Linked DNA regions of Homo sapiens: region 1 is linked to region 2. Evidence: promoter capture Hi-C in human tissues and cell types (Jung and others, 2019). All regions are on one chromosome and are shown on one strand. Each heading gives the region's core, a stretch centred on a gene start or on the middle of the fragment in contact. The rest is flanking DNA. Distances are from core to core; before and after follow the strand shown. Region 1 overlaps ECI2 (enoyl-CoA delta isomerase 2). Region 2 holds the start of FAM217A (family with sequence similarity 217 member A).

Region 1 (6,474 bases), core at 1,937-4,436, 36 kb before region 2:
CCCAGGCTGGTTAAGTGGCTGCTCAGGTCTTTCACTGTGTTTCCTAGTTGCCCACGCCCTGTGGCATGACTCGAAGGGGATTGTGACAAGACCAGAAGCTGAGCTATAGGAAAAGGCTTAGCAAATATTGCTGCAAGATCTCAAAGTGGGGCAGTGGGAATTGAGCTTGTTTTCATTGCCTATTAGGATTTTGTTAAAAACTTATATATGTATGTTTTTACTCTCATTAGGCTATCACATACCCTGAATTGAACTTGGGAAGGGGGCAGAACTGACTCTACAAGTCTTAGAGCATTTGGCTATTAGAGCATTCCTTGGCTGGGTGCAGTGGCTCACACCTGTAATCCCAGCACTTTGGGAGGCCAAGGCTGGTGGATCACTTGAGATCAGGAGTTCAAGACCAGCCGGGCCAACATAGTGAAATGCTGTCTCTACTAAAAATACAAAAATTAGCCGGGGCATGGTGGCGGGCACCTGTAATCCCAGCTACTCAAGAGGCTGAGGCAGGAGAATCATTTGAACCCAGGAGGTGGAGGTTACAGTGAGCCAAGATCGTGCCTCTGCACTCCAGCCTGGGCAGCACAGTGAGACTCTGTCTCAAAAAAAAGAAGAGCATTCCTTTTCTGGAAAAGAAATTGCAAATGGAGAGAGGATATCCACTTAATGTCCTCAGTTTTTTCGGAAGCTAACTATAAGTCTTTGCTTTCCTTTAGTCAAATAGAACTAATTTGAGTACCAATGCAGGTAAAGAAAACTCTCAGAGCCAGATCACTGGGTAGTTTCCAGAGAATGGAATTTTGAAAGTTTCTAAAGGTTGACCCAATGACCGTAATTTTTCTCTCCTTTTTTCCTCTGTAAAATAATAGTTTATAGTGTATCAAATGGAAAATCATAGCTGCTGTGGGTTATAGAATCAAGCATCTGCTTCAGATCATTTCTGCCCTGGACCCCCTGATCTTGCCCCTCCAACAACGATACACAGAAGCAGCAGCCCTTATAGACCTTCCCAGGAGCCTGTCTCAGCACACAGTTTGCAAACCGTTGCCTATTGAGGTCATCAGCTTCTCCCTTACTGAGAAATACCAGCAACCTCAAAAGACCATGAGTACATCTCTCTAAGCCTCCTGAAAGCAGTTAACTGAAGCCTTGTTTTATTAAGTTAGTATCTTAACCTTGCTTCTTGCTTTTCATTTCAGGCAACAGAGATGCTTATTTTTGGAAAGAAGTTAACAGCGGGAGAGGCATGTGCTCAAGGACTTGTTACTGAAGTTTTCCCTGATAGCACTTTTCAGAAAGAAGTCTGGACCAGGCTGAAGGCATTTGCAAAGCTTCCCCCAAATGTTAGTATTCATCTTTTACTTCTAAGAACCTTGAAAATGATTTCCTAAGGGAAAAATTTATTTGCCTTCAGAGAATAAGTCATAAAAAGCACAAGACACATCTTTAGTTACCTCTAAGCACATCTAAATTTGGAATTAAAAAATAACTGTAGTAATGTTGGAAATGCAGTACTGATTTTTACAAAACTTATCAAATAGACCTTCCATTTCTGTGTGGGGACAGAGGGCAATTCTGTATGGGGATTACTTGAGCAGGATGCTAGGCAGTATTTGCTGAGCACTTTTACTTTGGAATCCAGGTGAGAAGCATGGATTAGCTACTTTGAGAGTCTTATTGTATAGCACTTTTGTTTTTGTATGTGGTAGTGAGTGACTGATTGCTTTTATATTCTTGCTATTCAAAATGTAGTCCTGGAGCCAGAAGCTTGAGCAGCTACCTGAGGCTTTTTGGAAATGTATTATCACAGGCCTGCCCCACACCTACTGAAGCGATTTATATGCACACTGAATTTTGAGAAGCACTGTCTTATATTACACATGCAGCTTAAGATTTAACAGCATTAGGGCCGAGAACAGTGGCTCACACCTGTAGTCTCAGTACTTTGGGAGGCCAAGAAGGGCAGATCACCTGAGGTCAGGAGTTCAAGAACAGCCTGGCCAACATGGCAAAACCACATCTCTATTTAAAAAATACAAAAATTAGCCAGGCGTGGTGGTGGGCGCCTGTAATCCCAGCTACTCTGGATGCTGAGGCAGGGAGAATTGCTTGAACCCGGGAGGCAGAGGTTGCAATGAGCCAAGATTGCACCACTGCACTCCAGCCTGGGCGACAGAGTGAGACTATGTCTCAGAAAAAAAAAAAAGATTTAACAGGATTTATTAAATGAACATGGGAGAAACAAGAACCAGAATCATAGAATAATCTCACTCCTATTAGATTAACTCTTTTTTTCTTTTTGAGACAGAGTCTCACTTGTCACCCAGGCTGGAGTGCAATGGTGCGATCTCAGCTCACTGCAACCTCCGCCTCCCGGGTTCAAGCAATTCTCTTGACTCAGCCTCCTGAGTAGCTGGGATCACAGGCATGTACCACCACAACCAGCTAATTTTTGTATTTTTAGTAGAGATGGGGTTTCACCATGTTGGCCAGGCTGGTCTTGAACTCCTGACCTCAACTGATCTGCCCGCCTCGGCCTCCCCAAGTGCTGGGATTACAGGCATGAGTCCACGTCCAGCCTAGGTCAACTCTTAACCTTATTGTTGGTTTTGTTTTTCCAGGCCTTGAGAATTTCAAAAGAGGTAATCAGGAAAAGAGAGAGAGAAAAACTACACGCTGTTAATGCTGAAGAATGCAATGTCCTTCAGGGAAGATGGCTATCAGATGAATGCACAAATGCTGTGGTGAACTTCTTATCCAGAAAATCAAAACTGTGATGACCACTACAGCAGAGTAAAGCATGTCCAAGGAAGGATGTGCTGTTACCTCTGATTTCCAGTACTGGAACTAAATAAGCTTCATTGTGCCTTTTGTAGTGCTAGAATATCAATTACAATGATGATATTTCACTACAGCTCTGATGAATAAAAAGTTTTGTAAAACAAGCTTAAGAATTCACACAGGTGTTTGGTAGTAGAGAGTCTTACGTCTTTTGACATGAATCGTTGTTGCCAGGAACACTGGAACATGGTGCCTGGGGTCCTACTTTGAAAAGCACTCACAGCATTACAGGCTGAAGTCATGTCTTTGAATGCCACTATAGCACTTTGACGTCCACAAACAGTGGCTGACTGAATTGGGCCAAATGCTGACAGCCTACAGATCACTGACTTGAGGTCTTCAGTGGGTTGCATGTTCTTTTTCAGCCATGTAGCAAGGGAGCAAAATGGAAGGAATAGTATTACTAGAAAACAAATAAGAATCAAGAATAAGAATAAGAACCCAAATAAGAATCTTAGTTGGGTTTTTTTGCACAATTTAATAAAGAGGCATGAAGGGAAAACTGGGTCATTTCATTGGAAAGCAATGCTCTGTATGAGTAATTGTTTTCTTATTTGTTAGAGTCCCATTCTTGTTTAATGTGGTACTTTATGAAAGGCATCCCTGCAAGCTGCCTTGATTGTCCTTGTAACACCCTGTTTTGATTTCATAGCTATCACTTGACAAGGACTGAGGGTGTAATTCCAAGGGCTACAGAAAAGGATGGGATATTTTGCTTTTCTTAGTCTTCCTTTTGACCTTTCCTTTAAGGTCAAAGTTAGCTAACTCACCAAATCTCTTAACTTTTTAGTTCTAAATTTTTTATTCCAGTAATTGTAATCCAAGATGTTCAGTTTTATAGAAAATATAAGAATAGAAATAAGCATTCGTTTCAATTGAGCAGTTACTAGTGCTTAATGCCCATTATCATATTTTATCCACCAAAAACAATGCCAAAAATTAAAAATGAGGTAGGTCTGTTGCTACTACCCATTTTCAAGTAGGCATCCCGAGGCATGGAGATTAAACTAGCTTCTCCAGAGTCAAACTCCCAGTAAATGTCAAAATGAAGATAAAAATCTAGGCAGAGTTCTCATCCCACAATGGCAGCACAAGCCAACTACTGCCCATTCCTCCACAAATTACAACTAAAATCTCTAGAAGAAATACGAAAAAGAACTACTTGAGCATGCTGAAATTAATCAAAAGCAGGTGGATTGTTAAAGGGTGTCAAAATACAGAGAAGCAACTGCACAAGGATAAGTTTCCCAGATTATGAGAAATAAACACAATTGCTGGAATCTAACTCCGGAGCATGGTATTAGAAGTAAGGCAAAACTGCAGTTACTTTTGCACCAACCTAATACTTCTGCCTCAGAGGCACACCCCTATTGTGGGGTGGTGCTGCGGTGACCATGGAGTGGCCAGCCAAATAGAAGTTGAGGAAAACAAAAACACTTTGAAAAGGAAAAGGGCCCTCTGGGGGCTAAAGAGTGAAAGCAAGAAGAGACTCCCAGAGCCAAGAGAAAGAAGCTCTAATTCTGTGTATGAACCTAGATAAGTCTGATTCATAAGTGAGACAGACTCAAACCAGCATAGCAAAGGCTTTGCGAAGTGTACTGGGATTTTAACCACCACCCACAGAAGATCAAGACAGCTTGTAGTCTGAACCTAACCAGATTGATTTCTTGCTAAAACAAAAATGGCATTTTCCAGATGATTGTAACATGATCCACAAAAACATAACTTCCATCCAATGCCACAATATAGTAAATACAGTAAATATCCAGGATCCATATGACATAATATTGGATCCAACCATACAATAGAATATCTAAGGCCCTGAGAAGAAGCTGTCATATGGATCCAGGATCCATATGACATAATATTTACAAAATGATGTGACATAAAAAGAAACATGGAAATGTGAACACTTGGACAGAAGGAGCAGAGTGAAACTTGTTGCAACATCCTGGCCTGTCTGTGGGCTGCCTACAGAAATGGTGTCTGTAATGTCCAACTCAGGTATCAGACTGGAGACAGCAAATAGTTTTGATTTCAGGCTGGAAGCCACAGAAGGCAGTGGTGAGCAATGCAGCACATGAAAACTACACAGGGATTGCTGCCCTGTGGACCTCTGAGGGCAGGAGATTACAGAGGAATACAATAGAATATCTAAGGCCCTAAGAAAAAGCTGCAGTGAGACTGTTTAGGAAATGAAGACCTTTAAAATCACCTTTGATGGGGACAGGGAGCACACACACATTCACAGGAAGGAAGCATGCCTAGAAAAGACCTGAGAAGACCTGGACTAATCTCAGATTAGTGAAGACCTCATGGACTTACAAATTAGTGAGGTCTTACATGCCAGTCTGCAAAGACTGGGAGAGTGGCCATATTTTTTTTAAATACCCAATTTTCAAAAAAAGATCATAAGGCATGCAAAGAACCAGGGAAAGATGGCCCACTGAAATGAACAAAACACATCTCCAGAAACAGTTCTGGAAGAAACACAGGCATCAGGCTTACTAGACTTTAAAACAACTGTCAGCCAGGTGCGATGGCTCATGCCTATAATCCCAGCACTTTGGGAGGCCAAGGCAGTCAGATCACTTGAGGCCAGGAGTTGACACTAGCCTGGCCAACATAGTGAAACCCCATCTCTACTAAAAATACAAAAAAATTAGCAGAGCATGGTGCTGCACACCTGTAATCCCAGCTACTCAGAAGGCTGAGGCATGAGAATCACTGGAACCCAGGAGGCAGAGGTTGCAGTGAGCCAAGATCACATGACTGCGCTTCAGCCTGGGCAACAGAGTGAGAGTCTGTCTCAAAACAACAACAAAAAAAAACCACAAATGTCAAATATACTCGCAGAACTGTAGAAAAACATGAACAAAGAACAAAGGAAAGTCAAGAAAACATATGAACAAAATGAGAACATCAACAAAGAAATTATAAAAAAAAATATTGAGCTGAAAAGTACAATAACTAATTTGAAAATTTTATTAGAGGAGTTCAACAGCAAACTCAAATAAGTAGAAGAAAGAATAAGCAAATTTGAAAACAGCTCATTTGAAATTATTGAATTTGAGAAGCATACAGAAGAAAAAATAAAGTGAACAGAGGCTTAGGGACTTATGAGATGCCATCACACTGACCAATATATGCATAATGGGAGTCCCAGAAGGAGGTGAGAAAAATGAGGAGAGAGACTATTTGAATAAATAATAGCTGAAAACCTGCCAAATATGAGGAAAGACATGGATATACAAATCCAAGCTCAATGGTCTCCAAGTAGGACAAACCTGAAGAGACCCATACGAAGACACATAATCAAAGCTGACAAAAGTGCAAGATAAAGAGAATCTTGGAAGGCATCAAGAGAAAAGTGACTATATACAAGAGATCTGCGATAAGACTATCCGAGTATTATTTCAGCAAGAACCTTGGAGACTAGAGGCAGTGGGGTGATATATTTAAAGTGCTGAAAATTTTAAAAAAAACTGTCAACTGAGAGTTCTATACCTGGTAAAATGTTTCTTCAAAAATGAGGGAGAAATTAAGACATTCCCATAAAAACAAAAGCTGAGGGAATTTATTATTACTACACTTGCCCTACAAGAAATGTTAAAGGAAGTCCTCCAGTTTGAAATG
Region 2 (7,013 bases), core at 4,000-6,499:
CTGCAACATACGCAGATGTGAAATTCAGTGATTGATGTGTTTATTTTGCTTCCTTTTGGAAATATGTTAATATACATCACTATCACACGTTCCAGGAATAGTTTTTAAACAATATTTCTTATCTATTTGCAACAAAACAATGGCCTCCCAAATAGGACATTGCTATGGGAGCAGAGTGTTAAAGGTTAATTTTTAAAACTTCAAATTAGAAATATTTGCATATATATTTCTTAAAAAGGAATTATACAAACACAAGAAAGTATATTTAAGATGAATGCTCATAGAATAGAGTTCTAAATCAGGATAAATTAGCCACTACTGAAAGACAAAGCAGTTCTCAAAAAGGAAAAACAAAAATAAGACCAGATCGCTAAACCATATGCTAAATACAGATTGCCCATAATTGAAATGAAATGTTTCCCACTGACTTAGCATCTTATTTGAGAACAAAAATGCATATTATTATTTAGAAAATAGTGTCCTAACTTTCAGAAAATGTTACATAATTATATTGAACAAGATTCTGCTGTAGGCTGGGGCACAGTGGCTCACAGCTGTAATCCTAGCACTCTGAGAGGCCGACACGGGTGGACCACCTGAGGTCAGGAGTTTGAGACCAGCCTGACCAATATGGTGAAACCTCGTCTCTACTATAAATACAAAAAAATTAGCCAGGCGTGGTGGCATGCGCCTGTAGTCCCAGCAACTTGGGAGACTGAGACAGGAGAAGTACTTGAACCTGGGAGACAGAGGTTGCAGTGAGCTGAGAATGTGCCATTGCACTCCACCCTGGGCAACAGAGTGGGACTCTGTCTCAAAAAAAAAAAAGAAAAGAAAAGAAAAGAAAGAAACAAAAAGATTCTGCTGTACGTGACCAGCCATGACCTTGGCAATTCTAAAGGGAAAAACAAAGGAAGATGAGGACAAATGCATGGGTAATATCAAAAGGTGAAAGATACTGAAGGAGGTAGACTGAAATAGAAGGCTTTTCCCTCCAGAATAATTAGAAACTAAGTAATGTTGCTACTGACATATCTTTGCATAATTCAGGACAATGAAAAGGAATGTTATCTCAAGGTGCTTTCCAAAGTAGTTACGTGGTAGTCAGTGTCATCGCCTTTGTTATAGGAGGAGAAACTGAGGTGGGCAGCAAGCTGTGCTTACTGGACTACTAAGTGACTGGCCCAAGGCTTGCCTTTGTTTCCTTAGCCTGCCTCCCTTGTAATTAACGTAAGAGCTTGCTAAATGCCTGAAATAGAGAGCATCTGCCTCATCCTACTGTGTTTATGAAACAATGGTTTCACTCAGGATCAGCTAAAGAGGTGCAGATTTAAAGTAAGGCAAGCTGAGGCTACCACTAAAATCTGAATCCTGGGCATGGCCATGAGATGGCTGGAGGTGTAGGGGCCAAGGGTTTGGCCCTCTGAAGATTTGCTGAAAAATCAAAATTAGCCAGGCGTGGTGGCCTGCACCTGTAGTCCCAGCAACTTGGGAGGCTGAGACAGGAGAAGTACTCAAGTACAAAAGGCAGAGTAATTGGGGAAAAGGCATACACGTTTATTTAGCATGTGTTTATACATGGGAGTGTACAGAATGAAAACTCAGAAATACAGGGGAGAGTTTCCATTTTTATGCTTAGGTTCAACAAAGTATGGACAGCTGTGTAGAAATACGATAGGACAAAAAAGGTCTGATCTAACGCTAACAGCCTGAGTGGGGGAACCCAGCAAGGCCTGTCTCTCTAGATTCTTCTTGGCCTCTCTGAGCAGCATTCCTTCCTTCTGGGTATGGGCCACTCTCTGGAATGGGGGTCAGATAATTTCTTTATGGCCAGTTTTTACACAGAAAGGCAAAGGGAAAATTGGAGTAATATTTTTAGGTTTTATGGCTGGCTTTGGGAAAAAAGCATTCTGATTTCTGTAACCTGCATTGGAGAAGAGGGATTCTAGTTTCTCAGGCTAGCCTCGGAGGGAGACTGGGACTGAGAGACAGGAGGGCAGAAGAAGGTCAGAGAAAAACGTGTTTCTGAGGCTATTTCCGAAGCCTTCATTTTGGGGTACTGTTTTCCGAGCCCCAACAGAAGGAAGGTGCATTTTCTTTGGCCTTGGGATTGATGTTGAGCTGGGTCTGAGCTGCTGTAGAAAATGACCCACTGTCCAACCTCCTACGCTGGGCCAGAGCCAGACCAGACCCAAGGGTTTGGAGAGGGCACAATTTCCAAGTTGTCGCTTTCATATTTCACATCTCCACAGCCGTGCACATTTAGCAATGAGGGAATGGCCAGCCATGATTTTGATGCTGATGTCAAAGCATTCAAAAGTCTCCAGAGAAAGGAAGACCAGTTGAGTGGGGGTGATAATATGAAAGGAACATTTTTAAGAATAAGTTCTGTTAAGAAAAAAAAAGAATCTTAGAGGATGTATTTATGGATGACAAATCTCACAAGGACTCTAAGGGATCAGGAATCAGTTTGAGTTCTGAAATAACAGAAAAAGGCATGAACAGAAACACAAAGCAAGGAAGAGGGGAAATGTGTAAGCCAGATATTTGGAATTTACACACACGTGTGCATGTGCACACACAAGCACACATAATTTGTCTCAAGAGCGGGGAACATTTCCCAGCTAGATATACATTTGTAGAAAGCATTAGCTGGAAATACATGTACCCCAATATTTACTCCCATTCGCAATTTTTCTCGTAATTGTAAGGTGGAAAAGGTTATATAATACATCTAAGGCTCAGGTTACTCAATTATAAAATAGGAATAACTAGGCTGAGCTCAGAGACTCATGCCTGTAATTCCAGCACTTTGGGAGGCTGAGGCCAGCAGATCACCTGAAGTCAGGAGTTCGAGACCAGCCTGGCCAACATGGCAAAACCCGTCTCTACTAAAAATACAAAAAATTAGCCGGGCGTGGTGGCTGGTGCCTGTAATCCCAGCTACTAGGGAACTAGGGAGGCTGAGGCAGGAGAATTGCTTGAACCTGGGAGGCAGAGGTTGCAGTGAGCCGAGATCACACGATTGCACTCTAGCCTGGGTGACAGAGCAAGACTCTGTCTCAAAAAAATAAATAAATAAAAATTAAAAATAAGAAATAAAATAGGAATAACTGGTGGTACCTGCTTCATTGGATTATCAGGCATATACATTGGTTAATCCATATAAAATGTTCAGCACTATGCCTGGCATATAGTCACCACACCATACATTTCAGAAAATACTATTTTTGCAATAATTAAATCAATTGAAACATTTATTGAGTGCCTTACCTACTACAGTACATGCCAGGCACTCTGTTAGATAGAATATGGGCAGATATCACCTTCAAGGTGTTGAAAAGAAAGTGATTGAGACGTTGTAAATGAATAATTACAATGTAACTGAGTAAGGGGCTGTAATTAAATCATTATAACGAAGCAAGGATCTTGGAGGAGACAGCAACTTTTGTTTTCTCTCCTTTTTTTTTTTTTGTATTTTTTCTAGTAATTACACTTCCTGAACAATCAGGAAAAATGACTTGTGAGTTAGAAGTGTAATGACTAGAATTTAGGCAGGTTAAAAAAGAAAAGGAGATAAAAAGGAGGTACTATTACAGGAAGAGTAACAATGATGTATGCCCTGGAGGAGAGTGTTTAGGAAAATTGTAAAATGTCCGATGTGCTTGACATGTAGTGGGCGCTGGGAAGGTGATGAGCAGATACCTAAGGGATGGCTGCAGAATTAGGGTTTCCTCCTTCCGGCATTAGGAGGCAGTTGAGCAGGTCTGTATTTTAGAGCAGCAGTATGGAAAACAGCCGAAGGAAGAGAGGGCCCTAGAAGGGAAACCTCCAAGGAGGCTGCAAGGAATGAGGCCTGCACAAATCTTGTTCGTTCACTTACATCGATTGTGCTTCTACCACTGTGCTTCTACTATGTGCCCAGCACAGTTTTAAAGGGTTGGGGATACAGAAATGAACTAGACAGACAAGGCCCCGGCCCACATGGAGTTTGATATTCTACTGGGGAGAGACAGACAATACAAAAACAAACAAGTAAACAGCAAGATTATGAGGAGTACAAAGAAGTAAATAACAACGGGGTGTCATGAAATAGAGTAAGGTAGGTGGAAGGTGGGAAGAGCTTCTTTAAAGGGAAGGTCTTTCTGAGGAGAAAATGGAAATGCAGAGGAAAGAGTCAGGAGTCAGGGATCAAAGAACCTGAGAAACCCCTGACATTGTTTTCAACATGTGGTATATAAGTGCATTTTTATGGGGAGATTCTCAGAGGGACATGGCCGTGATCTCATCCCCCCAAATGTTTAGTATTCATTTGCTGTACCTAAATATATAATTAATTTTGTTTTAAATTTTTCTCTATATCAAAAGGTGGGGGTGATGATAGCTATGCAGATATATCTAACTAGATAGAGAGAGATTCTTCCCCCACCCCTCCACTTATTTCATGAAGCTGTAATAGGAGATATGCATTTCGGGGTACAAAATTGGGCTGTGTGATTTACATGTATCCTCTACATGAAAAAAGAAAAAAAATCATCTTTTGTTTTTCCTATTGAAAGGCCGACGACGGACCTGAAACTGACCGGATGAGCTTGGTGTCAACAAGGATGCCTCTTCTTCTATGTTAATATATTGTACAAGCATAGATATAACTTCACATGTATCAATGCGTATATATTGTAGCTTAGTCTGGAGGACTACGTACCGGGCGGTGCTCCTGGCTTGATGTGAGCAGGCGGTGGGAATGGAGGGTGGAGGCGGGTGGGCCGGGCCCCGGGTCCCAGAGGCCCACTGGCCATGTCGCGGAGAGCTCAGCCTGGAGAGGCCCAGGGAAGGGCCTGGAGGCCTCGGGGAAGGCCTGGGGAGGGTCAAGGAAGCCCGAGGAGGCCCAGGAAGGCCGAAGAAGGTCCAGGACGCCTGGGGGAAAGTCCGAGAAGGCCCGAGAAGGCCCGGGAGGCTCAGGCTTTCCCGCGAGGCCGGGGGCGGCCCCTTCAGGCCAGGATGGCCGAGTGGGCTGCGCAGCCCCGCGGGGGAGGCCGGGCGGGGCGCAGGGACAGGGCCTGAGGCTTGTTGTCCTCCCCTGGCGGCCCCGTGCGTCCCGCGGGCCCGGCGGCCGGGTGACCCCCGAGAGGCTCCGCGCCTGGGCGGCCGGCGGCGACCCCGCGGCCCGCGAATACGCGTGGACCTTGTGGAACGCCGGGCCTCCCCGGGCGCCCCCGCTCTCTGGTAGTTGCCGGGAGACCCGGCCGGTGGGGAAGCCCGCGGAGCCGCAGCCCCGGCCCCGGAAGGTCTCTCTGGGCCCCGGGCCCGACTCCCACCCCTGCGCCGGCCCGCGGGCTTCGCAGGCCCTGCACTGCCGACCGGGCTGCGCTCAAGGCCGCCAGCCGCCCGCCGCCCTCTTTGTCCCCCCGCTGCAGGAAGGCCGCGGCAGAGGGGGCGCCCTCCAAGCCGTCAGCCACGCACGCGGAGGCGCTCGGGCCTCGGGGCGGCGCACCGGGAGAGCACGCCGGGGAGGACACGTGGGCCTTCGCGCGGTGGGTTGAGAGCCCCGGCCCCGGGGAATCCCGCAGCCCCCTCCTGCTACCCCTGGAACTGGGCTCCCCACCCAGTCCGGCCACAGCTCAGGAGGAAAAGGGGATTCCTCTTCACGGGGGCCTTGCGGCTCCCTTGAGACACGCGCCTTCAAGCACTCTGGCCCCTAAAGCTCCTGTCCCCCAACTCGCAGTCCCCAAGGCGTCCTTTGTCCCCAGGGCCGTCCTTCAGGTGCGGTGGCCTTTTCCAGGAGCTGGATGCCCTCCTTCTTGACACACACCCGGTGGCCCCAGGCAGCGCCACCTGCTCAGCAACCGCCTTCCTCCTGCATTCAGACCTAGTGTCTGGCATGCACACACTCGTGGACCAATAACCGGTGTTGGCTGAAAACCTACCTAAACTAAATCTCCTATTTCTTCATACACTTTTCTGTAGGAGACAATCAATTGTAAACGATTAGCAGATAGACCGATTACTGCGGTGGCTTTAATTTGTGATTCTTGGCCGGGTGCAGTGGATCACGCCTGTAATCCCAGCACTTTGGGAGACTGAGGCAGGTGGATCACGAGGTCAGGAGTTCAAGACCAGCCTGGCCAACATGGTGAAACCCCATCTCTACTAAAAATATAAAAATTAGCTGGGCGTAGTGGTGCTCGCCTGTAATCCCAGCTGCTCGGGAGGCTGAGGCAGGAGAATCGCTTGAACCCGGGAGGCGGAGGTTGCAGTGAACCGAGATCGCGCCACTGCACTCCAGTCTGGGCAACAGAGCGAGACTCTGTCTCAAAAAAAAAAAAAAAAAAAAAAGTGATTCTTTCCAGATAGCCATACCTTAATCCAGTGACTGTTTTGCTTGTTACCTTAGAGTTCTCTAATTCTTTTACCTTAAACGGCAGTGGGTTAAAACCCTTTAGGTACCTTGATTGATTGGTGCGGAAAATATTGTTTGGTCCTGGGGGCATTTTGTTGTCTCCGAAATATGCACGGGGTGCTTGCCTGGCCTAGTTGTAAGGGTTCAACCCTGCTTTCAAATGGAGCAATTGTTTTGAATGAATAAAAGGAGACTTTGTGCCCCTGTTTTCTAAGTTCCAGATAATTCACCATAGTTTGTTCCAATGTGTATTTCATCTTCTTAGCTGATATTTGCTTTCTCACCTCTGATCTCAATTTCCTAATCTTCTGTTCTGAGATCTGCCAGTTTGCTGTTGTCTGTGCTCCTTTTGAGTCAGGCTTGCCCCTTGCTTCTGGTTGGTTTCGTACTGTCACCCCCACCCTGCTCTCCTAGCCCCTCTCTTCTGCTTTCTAAGCATTCTCTTACCTCCTTTAGATGGGAAATCAAAACTCACACTTTCTTTTTTATAAATGTTGACCCTTACCCATAAATGTGCCTATCCCGCAATCTGTGTAGGATTTTAAGGAAACAGAGCAACAGCTACAACAAAATGGGGAGAAGAAATGAGAACTGTGCTAACAGCCTACGTGTG

What was found. Contacts are between HindIII fragments. The study calls those that stand out against the background at their distance.
Region 1: a fragment that was not itself captured here is called in contact with the fragment with the promoter of FAM217A in region 2 in 6 of the 25 tissues and cell types used here (H1 embryonic stem cells, IMR-90 fibroblasts, bladder and 3 more).

Annotation. Positions count from the first base shown.
Region 1 is chr6:4,112,174-4,118,647 of GRCh38, reverse strand. ECI2 (enoyl-CoA delta isomerase 2) reads left to right here. Exons shown (of 10, transcript NM_206836.3): 9 at 1,197-1,340; 10 at 2,619-2,942. The coding sequence ends at 2,774. It also overlaps the pseudogene TEX56P. Among named protein-coding and RNA genes, the nearest start is that of ECI2, 20 kb to the left of the region's middle. The HindIII fragment of the contact is 3,279 bases long and covers 1,547-4,825 here.
Region 2 is chr6:4,077,373-4,084,385 of GRCh38, reverse strand. It overlaps FAM217A (family with sequence similarity 217 member A), which reads left to right and starts at 5,249. Exons shown (of 7, transcript NM_173563.3): 1 at 5,249-5,534; 2 at 6,938-7,013. The coding sequence starts at 6,972. It also overlaps the pseudogene TEX56P. The HindIII fragment of the contact is 11,916 bases long and covers 1-7,013 here.